Regions from separate parts of the Homo sapiens genome. Here region 2 is linked to region 1. The links are contacts of gene promoters, found by promoter capture Hi-C in human tissues and cell types (Jung and others, 2019). All regions are on one chromosome and are shown on one strand. The core of a region is centred on a gene start or on the middle of the fragment in contact, and the rest is flanking DNA. Distances in the headings are between cores, read along the strand shown.

Region 1 (7,034 bases), core at 3,227-5,726:
TTACTGTCACCGGTTTACAGATGAGGCCACTGAGGCTCAGAGAAGTTAAGGAACTTGCCCTGGTCCCAAGAGAAAAAGTGGAGGAGCCTGGATTTAAACACAGTTCTGTCCAAAGCCTGTGAACCAACAGCCTGTGCTCTGAGAAAGCAAGTGGAGAAAAGGCATTAGACACAGCCATAAGAAGGCTTTGGGGGGAATAGTTGGAGTCAAGGGGAAGTGATAGAAGACAGATTTCAAAGGTCTAAGGAGGGAGTGGGTGGAGATTGATGGAAGGCGGAGAGTTTAGAGATTGTATTTGACCAGAAAGGGAGGCAGAGGGACTCCTTGGAGATTGTATTTGACCAGAAAGGGAGGCAGAGGGACTCCTTGAAGACTGGGAATCTAGTGCCTGCTTGCAGGCAGAGGGCAAGTGCCTGAGCCTTGAGAAAGTACAGACTTGACCTTGAGAGAGTAGTTGAAATTTTGTTGCCTTCTAGGTGGTCAGCTGTAGACAGACCTTCTCCTGGGAACTGTAGGGCCTGAAATTCCCAAGGTCTTTGAGGTCGGAGCAACCTGAGGCCTCTGAGGCCAAAGCATCTGCGATTTGAGGGTGTTCCCTAGCTGGTGATTTCCATATACAAGGACATTTCGGTACCCCAAGCAGCCAGTCTAGAACCAATTGGTCTGCCCCATACCCAGCGGCTCCAGGAAGGCATCTGAAAACATGGAGCAGGAAGCTCCGTGGCTATTGCGTGTTATCCCCTAGCACACCAGCCAGCCGTGGAGTGACTCTTTGCAATTACAAACCAGCAGCTGAGTAGACGCAGTTTAAAAGTACGTTGTAAAAGTTTTATGGTTAGTGAAGATAAGTGCAAAATTAATCCCTACAGAACAAAGCAATTTAAAAAGTACATAATGAAGTGATTAGCTAGAAATGGTGGGGAGCAGAAGGAGAGTGCCCAAGAACAATTTTACTCAGGAATGGTCTTCACACTTTGGTTTTTTCAATTGCATTCAATGAGGGAGCTGTATAAAAGAGAGATTAATAACATGCACAAACGAGGTAACAATTGATGAAGGATTTGGGGAGTCAACCTGAAGGAAATTTTTACCTTCTTAAAAAGTTTGGATGAAGGGGAAAAATAGCTATAAAGGCTTTGATTGGGACAATTGGTGAACTTTGATTATAGACTGGGGATTTGATAATAGTCATGTATCAATGTTTAATTTCCTGAATTTTGGAAAAAAGCAAAAACAAAAGCCAAAGAAACCTGGAAGCTCACAATGTATGTTAAAGCTCCCCAGAGTCATTTTCTGTCTCCCTTTTGTTTCCATTTTTGTTCTTTGTTCTTCTTTAGCTGAGTCTGCATGCTGGTCGGTATCAGACCCTGGAAGGTAGCTTCTTGGCCACCATTACATTGTTATTCTAGTTTTCCTGGAAGAGACCACCAAGCAAGGCCAGAATCATTTCCTCAGAAGAACTGCCACAAACTGAGCAAGGGTTCCTTCTCCTCCTCCTCTGACACTGCTGTGGTTTTCCTTGGACAAGATCCGATATTCATAAATCTGAAGTTGCAGAAGGAGGGGTCAGGGGCATCTCCAAATACAAATGTTCTTGGCTTTGTAAAGCAATGCAAAGGGCAGGGTACCTGTGAGCACATTTTTTTCTAGTGCTGTAGGTGCTGGTATCCAGAAATTACCCTTACACACAAGTTTTTCTATAAAGTTTGGTATCCAGAAATTACCCCTGCACACAAGTTTTTCTATAAAACAAAGCCTACCTGTATACAAAGTCAGTCCTGAAAATAAAGAGTTAACCCCTGGTGTAAATGGCCCAGGAACACCATTCACTCCTTTAGGTCTTGCCTCTCTCTCTTTCTGTCTGTCTAGTTTGGGAAAGTTCAAGAGACAGGGCTCTGGTCTCTGGAGCACTGAATGGTGGGGTGCTCTGTTTTATTCCTCAGGCCTGCTTCAAATGCTGCACATCAGGAGGTGAGGGTCTTGATGACTTGCTTAATTTTCACCACACTAGGATTGTAGTAATATAGAGAAATCATGGACTAGGGGAGGGAAAAGATTAGTAAGACCATGATTTTAAGACAGATACTTATTTGGGATTTCAGTGTTTCTAAAATCAGGTTGGACCTTATACATTTGGCATATATAAATAAATAATAAATATGTAAATAAATTTTAATTTACTGTCCAAACTAGAAGCTTTTGCGAGTGAAAGGGGGTGCTACTAATAACAGTGGAACACTAGGTATAAACCAGAATAGTCCCCAGCAAACCAGAACATATGGTCATTCTACTGAGAATTTTTTGTGCATGTTTAATCACCTCCTTAAATGCCCCATCTCCAATATAGTCACATGGGGAGTTACAGCCTCAGCATATGAATTTGAGGAAGGGGGAGACAATTCAGTCCATAGGGAGTGCTGTAACAGAAAAAACACAGTGTAAGTATCAGAAAGTCAGGGATTTTTTATATTTTGTTCTGTGGTAAGATTCCCATCTCCTACAACAAAGACTGGCACATAGTAAGTGCTCAGTAAATAATTGCTGAACTGCATTAAAGCAGAGGAGGGACATGCTCTGATGTATAATTTTAAAAAGTGGATTGGAGGGCAATACGGATTGAAGGGCAACACGACAACGCAGAAAGACCAGGGAAGAGGCTCTGGATGGAGATGCCCACACAAAAATAATAGGGACTTGGACCAGGATGTTGGCTGTGCAGATGGAGAGAAGTGATTAAATTCAAGCTATATTTAGGAGGTAGAACTGTCTGCTTTTGCCGATGTATTGGATGTGGAGAGGGAGGAAGAAGACATTGCTACAGATGAATTACAGGTTACAGGCTTCGGCTATTAGATGGATGAGGGGCAGACTAAGGGACAGATGGGGAGGCAGGGAAGAAAATCGGGAACTTCGTTTTGGACATGGTAAGGTTGAGATGCCTGAGACACATGAGAGTGAAGGTGAGACGTAGGCACTTGGGTATATAAATCTTGAGCTCAGAGGAATGTAGTGTGTTTTCCCCTGTCCCGAAAAGCTGTGGTATAGCAATAGTGAATCTTATCATCAGTGGAATATTATAGTGATAATAATTATAGCTGATACTTAGGGGCCTCTAAACTTCTTCCAGGTGATGAAATAAACTGTCTCTGTGTATTACTTCATTTAATTCTCACAGCAACTATCTTTGGAATTTATCACTTTTATCTCCATTTCATAGACAAGGAAACTGAGTGTTGGAAGGTGAAGTGAATTGCCTAAAGTCACCAGTTCAGCAAATGGGAAATGTAGGACTTGACACCAAGACTGTTTGGCCCCAGAGGCTATGCTCTGAACCATAATGACTTCCTGTCTTCCAAAAGGCAGGCTCTTGGATCCATATCTTACTGTGCTTCTAAATTATCCTGTGACCCTGAACCTTAGTTTGCTCACCTGGGAAATGAAGGGAGGTCCTGGTTAGGTTCCCTTCAGTTCTACTCTATTGCAGTATGCTGATCTCTTTTGTAAATCTGTATTAAATGAGAGTTTGCTATCGGTGACTTTCAGAGATGACACCAGTGATGATGCCCATGCTGACGATTCATTCTGATGTCTATGAAAAGAGCAAATCCTTTAAGAGAAGATGTAGCATACCAGTGTTTATAATCTGAGTTTCATTTGATTAAGAGGGGAAGCTCTTTAGAACAAATATCATTTCTGAGCGAGAGAATGTTCAGCATCTCAGCCTCATTTGTATCATTTGATAAAAGGGCCCCACTGAGCCAAGTGTGAGGATGATGCTTGAGCCAGACACATAGACACCAGACATTCCTCTGATGTCTGCTCCCCAGGCTTGGCCACATTGCCTCCCACCAACCCCATCTCAATGACACATCCATTACCTGCCATCAGTTGGCTCTATGGTGCTGGGAATGACAGAGTGTATCTACCCTGGATTTCAGAAAGAACCCTCCTGGCTTATCATGGCAACACCCTTTGGACACTCGTTTAAAGAGTCCTTCTTTGGGCCAGTGTTATCCTTTTGGGGGCATCTGGTATGGACGGCCAATTTGAATCTGACTGGGACATGCTAATGAGCCATTCATATGTGTGGGATTTGTTTCTGATTCGATTAAGCTTCAGAGAGAGGAAAGAAACAGCCACTGATTAGAGACATAAAAAAAGAAATACTTTAAGTGAGTAAGTGGTTCATCTTCATATAGGAAAGTATAAATTAAACATGGTCCAGGAGATGTGCTTTGAATAGCAGCTGGATAGCACAAGCATGTCCACAAGGAGACGGTGCCTCACAGCAATTGAAAGGGACTTAACCCCCAAAAAGGGCTCTGAATATGCTGAGTAAATAGATGAGCCCAGTTAGCTGATAAAAATGACTCTCAGATTAGAGATGGGAAGGTTTTTATTTGGATTTTAGAAAATTGCTCCCCACTCCATCGCCGCCATATTGTCTGTGTGAGCAGAAGGGAGAGCGGCCACAGCCGCTGCCGCTTCCACCACAGTGTGAAGAAAACAGGTCTGAAACAAGGTCTTACCCCCAAGCTGCTTCTGAACACAGTGACTGCCAGATCTCCAAACATCAAGTCCAGCTTTGTCCGCCAACCTGTCTGACATGTCGGGACCCGTGCCAAGCAGGGCCAGAGTTTACACAGATGTTAATACACACAGACCTCGAGAATACTGGGATTACGAGTCACATGTGGTGGAATGGGGAAATCAAGATGACTACCAGCTGGTTCGAAAATTAGGCCGAGGTAAATACAGTGAAGTATTTGAAGCCATCAACATCACAAATAATGAAAAAGTTGTTGTTAAAATTCTCAAGCCAGTAAAAAAGAAGAAAATTAAGCGTGAAATAAAGATTTTGGAGAATTTGAGAGGAGGTCCCAACATCATCACACTGGCAGACATTGTAAAAGACCCTGTGTCACGAACCCCCGCCTTGGTTTTTGAACACGTAAACAACACAGACTTCAAGCAATTGTACCAGACGTTAACAGACTATGATATTCGATTTTACATGTATGAGATTCTGAAGGCCCTGGATTATTGTCACAGCATGGGAATTATGCACAGAGATGTCAAGCCCCATAATGTCATGATTGATCATGAGCACAGAAAGCTACGACTAATAGACTGGGGTTTGGCTGAGTTTTATCATCCTGGCCAAGAATATAATGTCCGAGTTGCTTCCCGATACTTCAAAGGTCCTGAGCTACTTGTAGACTATCAGATGTACGATTATAGTTTGGATATGTGGAGATTGGGTTGTATGCTGGCAAGTATGATCTTTCGGAAGGAGCCATTTTTCCATGGACGTGACAATTATGATCAGTTGGTGAGGATAGCCAAGTTTCTGGGGACAGAAGATTTATATGGCTATATTGACAAATACAACATTGAATTAGATCCACGTTTCAATGATATCTTGGGCAGACACTCTCGAAAGCGATGGGAACGCTTTGTCCACAGTGAAAATCAGCACCTTGTCAGCCCTGAGGCCTTGGATTTCCTGGACAAACTGCTGCGATATGACCACCAGTCACGGCTTACTGCAAGAGAGGCCATGGAGCACCCCTATTTCTACACTGTTGTGAAGGACCAGGCTCGAATGGGTTCATCTAGCATGCCAGGGGGCAGTACGCCCGTCAGCAGCGCCAATGTGATGTCAGGGATTTCTTCAGTGCCAACTCCTTCACCCCTTGGACCTCTGGCAGGCTCACCAGTGATTGCTGCTGCCAACCCCCTTGGGATGCCTGTTCCAGCTGCCACTGGCGCTCAGCAGTAACGGCCCTATCTGTCTCCTGATGCCTGAGCAGAGGTGGGGGAGTCCACCCCCTCCTTGATGCAGCTTGCGCCTGGCGGGGAGGGGTGAAACACTTCAGAAGCAACGTGTCTGAACCGTTGCTTGTGGATTTATAGTAGTTCAGTCATAAAAAAAAATTATAATAGGCTGAAAAAAAAAAAAAAGAAAATTGCTCCCCAAATCCCTATGACATTTAAGCTCATTGTCATTCTCTGGCAGCACCAGTGACAGTAATGGGGGCCAGAGATCCTATTTCAAAACAAAGAAGTGATTACAGTAGATAGCGCAGGTGTCAATGGGACCCTGATTTGGAACTTGCTAATACTTCTGTCTCTGAGTTTGGGGCTTCTATAGGGTTTTGGTTCCATAGATATGCCTGGACTTGAACTAGCTTACCTTCCCAGCCTTGTGCATCGGGAAGCTGTGAGGGTCAGATCCTTCTAGATTTTGTGTCCCCTTACAAGGGTTGGAAGAGTCTGGCTGCAGCCCTGGCCTCACCAGCTGGCTCCCTCTTGCGTAAGTGGAGTTGCCACAGGGCTTCTGTCTGTGGCTTTCCAAGGAACCTGGAGCTGTATGTCATCTTCAAACCTGGACCTTTCCTCTACCACCCTGGCTAGCTTCACCCTTGGTTTCCTGCCCTCTGCTCTGGTTCTGAGTTTGAACCAAACTCTCACAGCAGCCCGATGTGCAGGAGTCCAAATGTCCTGCCTGCCCCTTGCAGCTCCCTCTCTCACCCCTTGGGGCTAGATCTGCTCCCTGCATCCTCAGCCTCTAGTGGGGTACTGCTTTGAATGAACTCATCAGCTGGAATTGGGAAGCGGTCACCTTCCAGACACTCCATCTGTCCCTATACCTGGAGCTTTCTCATATGAGCCCCACACAATAGATTGAACCTCTGGAAACTGGTGCCTGCAGGGACCATGCCTCTTTGGTCACCTTGCCTCTTTACATACTGGCAGCATCACAGACTGAAACAGCAGCTCTCAGAACTGCTGGAAATAGAGGTTACCCAGGAAATGTCCTATTTTGCTCACACAGTCCCCTGAAGGCTGGCTGGGAGGCTCTCCTGTGCAGCTTTTCTCCAAGTAGTGACTTGGGGACTCTGATTGCTTCTCTTGTGGGTTCAGCATCTTTGAACTTCAAGTTCACCCTGGCTTAAACATCCAGCAGATGGTGGGGTGGGGAGTAGAAGTGCACCTAAGGAGACACACTGGATAGTCACCTGCCTTCCCCG
Region 2 (6,902 bases), core at 4,299-6,798, 370 kb after region 1:
TGGCTGTGTATGCCCAGATGCCCCGGGCAAGGCAAATACAGACAACAGGACACTCCCTCTGTTCCAATGAGCCAGGTGATTTCAGTGTGTTTCCTGGGTGTAAGGATCAGGACATGCAGAGGGCTTTGGGAAGAGCGAACAGGGTCAGGTCTAGTCTGGATCATCAGGAAGACCATCCCAGAGGCAGTAATAATAAAGCTGAGACCTGAAGACCAAGAGGAATGGGAGGACAGTGAAGAGAAGAAGGGGGAACAGGAGAAAGGGAACCAGCAGTTTACTGGGCTGGTAGGCAGGTAAAGAGGGAATGAGGAGGCCTAGGTACAGCTGTGAGGGGCATACAGCAGACACAGGTGAAGCTATCTCTGCCCTCTGTCAAATCATAGCATGAACAAAGAACACTGGTTGCAGTTCAAAGACATGGTATCCAGTCCCAGCTCTGGCACTCCCTGGGCAAGTCACACCCCCAATCTGAATCTCGGTCTCCCAACTGCCTGTTGTCACCCACACTGTAACGGAAAGTGTGCCATTACTGCTAATTGACATTTATCTCTCTCCATCACTTGGAAACCCATTTCAGCCCCAATTGTTCTCTGTGCCTCTAAAAAATAAAATAAAAAAAATTTTTTAATTACTAGGCTCCTAACTGAACAATAACTATCGTGGCATTACAAGGCCAACCAGGCCCCTTACCCTAGCCCATTATCTCTCTCCTCTTTTCAACTTAGGGAAAACAAAAGAATCAGTTCAACAAAGTCATTTATTCTCCACTTTATAGGCTGCAGAGCAAATGGTTTTCAAGGTTTTCTAACAGACAGTGTGGGTGACAACAGGAGTTGGGAGACAGATTTAGAGTGGGGGTGATAACCTACCTGTTGTCACCCACACTGTCATCCCAACTGTGAAGAAGCACATTGGAATGTTTGACCTCTGAAGACTGGTCCTGCCTCATTAATTCATTCAGCCAACATTTATCAAGAGCCTTTTACGTCCCAGCCCTTTTCCAAAAGGTGGGAATCTATCAGTGAACAAAACAGACAACAACTCTTACCCTAACAGAGCTTACATTCTAGAGGAGGGAAGACACACAATAAAAATAATAAATATGTAACAAATAAACAAATAATTTAACTTTTTCAGAAAGATCTAGGTGCTATAGAAAAAAGAAAAAAGTAGAACAGGGATTAGTTTGCATTTTAAAAAGGGTGATTAGGGCAGGCTACATTGAGGTGGTGTGTTTGAGTGGTGAAGACTTGAAAGAGGTGAGATTTCAAGCCATCGAATTCTCTGGGAAAGGGAAAATGAGGGCAAAGGAAATACAGCAAAGCCTCAGAGCAGAGGATCCCCACCATGTTAGAAAAACAGCAAGAAAGTCAGGTGTCTAGCAGGGTGTGAAAGGGAATAATGACATGAAATGAGGCCAGAGGGATGAAGGGGGATGGCTGCACTGATTGCAAAGGGCCCAGTAGGCTATTTAAACTTGCTCCACGGCCCCCAGACTCCCAGCCACTGGCAACCTCTTTGATTTAGCTGGGCTTCTGGAAGAAACTTCAGGGAAGTGACACCAGCCCAACTTCTTCCTCTAGTTGGGGGCTATAGTGCTGTCTCAGGAATGGCTACCATGTGTCTTGGCATTGAACTTGGCAGCCTAGACACAGGCTTGCACTGTGGTCCTCACAAAGGCCATACACCCAGGGATCTCCTGCCCCACCCCATCCCTCTACAGCAGCAGTCCCCAACCTTTTTGGAACCAGGGACTGTTTTCGTGGAAGACAATTTTTCCACAGATGGGAGGGGGGTGGGGGAAGGTTTTGGGATGAAACTATTCTACCTCAGATCATCAGACATTAGATTCTCATAAGGAGCATGCAACCTAGATCCCTCGCATGTACAGTTCACAACAGGTTCGCGCTCCTGAGAATCTCATGCCGCAGCTGATCTAACAAGAGGCAGAGCTCAGGTGGTAATGCTCACTCACCCACTGCTCACCTCCTGCTGTGTAGCTGGTTCCTAACAGGCCACCACTGACTCTTCCTAGTCTGCAGCCAGGGGTTGGGGACCCCTGCTCTACAGGGTTCACTCTGTCCTTGTGCTCAGCCTTTCTCCTCATTGCTGGGCACAAAGGAGTCAGGAAGGAAGGCCCTGGGTTCCAGGTTGTAGAGGATTTTTTTTCGAGCCGATGCCATTACTGCTAACTGCTAACAGATGTTTATCTCTCTCCATCACTTAGAAACCCATTTCAGCCCCAATTGCTCTTTCTGCCTCTGAAAAGTAAAAAAAAAAAGAAACAGAACAAAAAACAAAAAAACAAACAAAACAAAACAACAACAACAACAACAAAATCATCAGTCTTCTAACTAAACAATAATTATCTTGGCATTGCAAGGCCACCCAGGCCCCTTACCCCAGCCCATTACTACTCTCCTCTTTTCAACTTAGGAAAAAAAATCTGAATCAGTGCAACAAAGTCATTTATTCTCCACTTTATAGTCTGCACAGCAAATAGTTTGTCAACATCTTTTAAAAACCACTTTCCTCCCTCACATTGTGCTCAGAAAGCTGCTTTGTCTTTCCCTCAGCTACTGATTTTTGCATCTTGTTAGGGTTGTTCTGTGCTCCTAAGGAATTAATAACAAATTAGCCAAAGTCCATGAGCTGCAGCTCAGCTTGCTGGGCTTACCCGGACAGCCAGCCTGGGCACTGCTTCCCTTCTACTTCTTTCCTGGAGGATGAGAATATCCCCAAGGATGGAGACTTGGCATTCTTGGTCTTACTCTATATTGCCAAGGAGAAGTGGAACTGCCCTGGGCTTGATCTTGGAGTCCTGAGGATTAAATGTAGACCTTTGGGGAGAATGGGGGAAGCCACAGGGAATAGTTGAAAGGATGTGGTTTTGGAGACAGACTTCAGTTTGAATCCAAACCTAACTACTTGCTGACTTTGTGGCTTTGGGCAAGTGCCCTAGTGTTTGGGGGTATGGGGGCCCCAAAGGTGTCACAGCTGTGAGCACCAGGCTGCAAGTCATGCTGGGTCTCAGCAATGGGACGGGGCTGAGGAGGGGTGATGGAGGAAGCTCAGAAAGTGCAGGTCTGGAGTCGGGCCTGTAGTCTGCCTGGAGAACAGATTCTTGAATGGGAAAATCCAGAATTCAGATCTCAATGTCCAGATGGGGTCACTGAATATTCAGGTTCAGTCCAGGCTGGCATCAGTGTCCAAATTCCACATGGGCCCTTGGGTTCAAGAAGGATGCTAACTGGGACACTGTACCATATGTGAAACAAGAAACAGAGCATGGTGTTCAGGAGCATGAACCAGGAAACAGACTCCCTGGCTCCAAATCTTTACTTTGCCACTTATTAGCTGGCAAAGTGTTTAACCTTTTGCGACTCAATTTCCTCATCTGTAAAATGAGGCTAGTCATTGTACCCATGATACTCAAGGATTTATTGTTAAAATTCATGAGTTAATATATGTAAAGGGCTTAGAAAATTGTTTGGCAGCTAGGATGTGCTACATAGGGAGAGCTTTTAAAAATAAAATTAAAGCAAGTTCTCCTAATCCTGAATTATTATTATTATTATTAATTATTATTATTTTAGATATGAGGGTCTCATTGTGTTGCCCAGGCTGGAGTCGCTCAAGTGATCCTCCCACTTCAGCCTCCTGAGTAGCTGGGACTACATGCACACGCCACCATGCCCACCTCCTTTCACAGAAAACTTAATTGCCTTTTCCTTTCCTATTCACTTGTATGAGTAAAAATCATATATGGCTTTACAAACCCAGGCATCATCTTTAATGCTTCTGTCTCTGCACCCCACCAATCCAATCAACCACTCAGTCTTCCTGCCCTTTCTGCCACTGCCCAGCCGTGCCTCCGTTGTGCCTCTCCTGGACGAGGCTTCAGCTCACCTCATAACTGCCCTCTGGTCTCCCTAGCTCTAGACTCACCTTATCTAATCCATTCATCACACTTCCAGCAAAGCAGTCATTATAAATCACAATCTGATCACATTGTCCATTTTAAGCCATTCCATTGGGCTTCTCCTATTATCTACAGGAGTCATTAAAACTCCTTGGCACACAAGGTCCTACAGGTTCCCCTACAAATTCCTGCAGCTTTATTTACTATCTCCTGCCCCCACCCTTGACACTCCAGGAATACTAACTTTCCTGTTGTCACCCATACCACACACACAGGTGCACACACACACAGACCACTCCTTCACACACACACACACACACACACACACCATGCTTCACTTGTTCATTTGCCTAAAATATCCTCCCAGCTTCTCCCACCTCCCTCCACCCACCCCTCATCTCGACACTATCACTACCCCCACGCATTGCTTGCCAGCTCCTGGACCCAGTAAGCAGCTAAGACCCCGGTGTCGCTTCCTCCTGGAATCCTTCCCTGAAGCCACCCGTTGGATTAGACATTTGTGTCCATTAGGATAATCTTAGATAAAAAGTTCCTAAATTTCAGTGGTTTGATGCAATAGAGGTTTGTCATTCTGTGATAGTCTAAAGTAGGCATCCCTTGTTGGCAAGCAGCTTTCCCTCATGCGGGAATTAGAGATGCGTCTTTTGGCTCCATAACCCGTAGGGTCTCAGGGTCGTCTACATCCAGCTAATGAAAGGGGTAAGAGGGACTGGAAGAGGCACACCCACTTCTTAAGATCTCTGGCCAGAGTGGTAACCTCACTCCCACCCATATCCCATTGGTGGGAATGAGTCACAAGGTCATGCCTGGCTGCAAGGAGGGCTGGGAAGTATAGTCCAGGAGCCTTCCAGCTCCACCCTGTTGACAGGGGAGCATGCCATTTGGTAGGCTGTTGGTTCTTGCAGCCACAGGGCCTCTTCTTGTCTCTATGTCCACCTCAGAGTTTTCACAATATGTGGCTATAATCTGTTTTCATGCCCATCTCTCCCACCAGATTGTGAGCTCCTTGAGGGCAAAGGCCTTGCTCTTTTTATCTCTGTACCCGGTGTCTGGCACTGGTGCTTGGGACTATTGGATGAATGGATGACCTGAGTAAGAACGAGCTCAGCACCTGTGTGGGTCTGATCCTGCAGGCAGACAGTCCTCTCTGCGAGCAACTGAGCCAGACTGGGGAAAGCAGGGACACCAGGACAGGTCATGAAGGCCGATCTACCCAGAAAAACACAGAAGACCGGGAGAATGACTTGGCTCCTGTGAGAGGTTTGCATCTCCATCTCCATGGGATTCGCAGGCCAAGAAGGGCTCAAACCCTGAGAGCTCTGAAACACATATTCTTCATAGCTAACACTTACATGTAAGCCCATGCCATGTGTCAAGCACTATCCACCAATCCTCACAACAACCCCATTTTGCAGATAAGGAAATCAAGACTTGGAAAGGTTAAATGAACATGATACTGCCTCTATCCAAGGGCTTTTTTTCTTCTTCGGAGCCCCAACAAGCCCTAGGACAAGGATGGCTTCAGCCTATCTTCTAGAATTTCTGTCAATGAGGATTCAGTTTTGGAGGACAGCAGATGTTTGACTTCCTGGAGGACAAAGCAGAAAAGCCGACACTTTGAACTTTCTTACCCCTGTTTGAACATCAGTGCTCAGGTAACAGGCCAGTGGCTGGAGAGCAAGCTTCCAAGATTACTCTTCACTGTGAATTCTCCAGCATTTTCCAAGCAAAGAAAAGCTGGACCTTCCACTGATGTTTACATCTGACAATGTCTTTTGGTCAAATTAAAAAACAGTAGAGGCTGAAGCCAAATAACAAACTACAAGGCCAGCTCATCTCAACATGACACTCATGCAGAATTAACAGTGATAGTGTTATGACAGGAGCCTGATACTCTCTCTGCATTCAACGTTAGGGCCAAATACCCAGAAGCCAGTGGTGCAGAAACACAGCTTCATCCGGCCATGCTTCATGTCCCCTATGCCAGCATTTCCATAATCTTAACTGGATAACAACCACAGACCCTCCTGGGAAATCACGGCCTCGGAAGTGTTTTCACACTGATGACAAGAGAAACAGCTGTAATTTGTCATTATAGAAATATCCAATTATCAGGCCACTGAGTGATGTCTGCAGCCTCCTGTCCTCACTGCCATCAGTCTGGGCTCCGAGCAACACACCTGTTAGGGCCAGGGCCTGGCAGATGACACCCACAGAAGAGCCTGGCTTTCTTCTCCCATCACCTCCTGGAGAATCCAGCAGCCCCTGTCTCTGGCAGAAGTGCCTCCAAGGTCTCCTCCTGATACCACCTTTTAATGCAGGAAGAGCAGATTATGAGTGACTCAGCTCCTGGCTGAACCACACCCTCTTACAGGGCCATTGTCTATACCCTGGCAGAAGTTGCTTTTTCTCCTCACTTTTTCTGCAACAGGATAGAGCGGTCTGTGATAAGTTTAAGTGATCAGATGTGAAATCAGGCAGTCCTGGGTTCAATTCATGTTCCCAGGACATCCCTGCTACATGACCTGTGAGGTACACTTGTGAAAGAATCCTCCCTTGGTGGAATACACTAGGAAAAAAGCAAATAGAAGAAAAACAACTAAATCTGAGCTACTCTTGGTACACTGCCTGTGGGTTAGCCCTGCTCCACAAGGAACAGAAAAAAAAAAAAAAAGAGGGAGGGAAGGAAGGAAGGAAGGGAGGAAGGGAACAGAGAGAGGGGAAAGAAAGAAAAGAAAAGAGAGAGAGAAAGGGAAAAGAGAATAGGAAAAAAGAAAAGAAAAGAAAGACAACTAAATCTGGTGCAATAGTAATAGCAAACACTTATAGGCACTTCATGCTATGTATGTATTAACTCATTTTATCCTCACAACAACCCTGCAAAGTGGGTACGATTATATTTATTTTATAGATGAGGAAACTAAGGCAAAGAAATATCAAGGAACTTAACCCAGGACAC

The links. The method cuts DNA at HindIII sites, captures the fragments that hold promoters and counts their contacts. A contact is called where the count stands out against the background at its distance.
Region 2: a fragment that was not itself captured here is called in contact with the fragment with the promoter of CSNK2A3 in region 1 in 2 of the 25 tissues and cell types used here (IMR-90 fibroblasts and mesendoderm cells).

The regions. Positions count from the first base shown.
Region 1 is chr11:11,350,692-11,357,725 of GRCh38, reverse strand. CSNK2A3 (casein kinase 2 alpha 3) reads left to right here and starts at 4,476. Exons shown (of 1, transcript NM_001256686.2): 1 at 4,476-5,784. The coding sequence starts at 4,607. The coding sequence ends at 5,782. All of the region lies in intron 6 of GALNT18 (polypeptide N-acetylgalactosaminyltransferase 18), which reads left to right. The HindIII fragment of the contact is 7,765 bases long and covers 3,156-7,034 here.
Region 2 is chr11:10,982,292-10,989,193 of GRCh38, reverse strand. No RefSeq gene overlaps it. Among named protein-coding and RNA genes, the nearest start is that of ZBED5-AS1, 130 kb to the right of the region's middle. The HindIII fragment of the contact is 6,426 bases long and covers 2,336-6,902 here.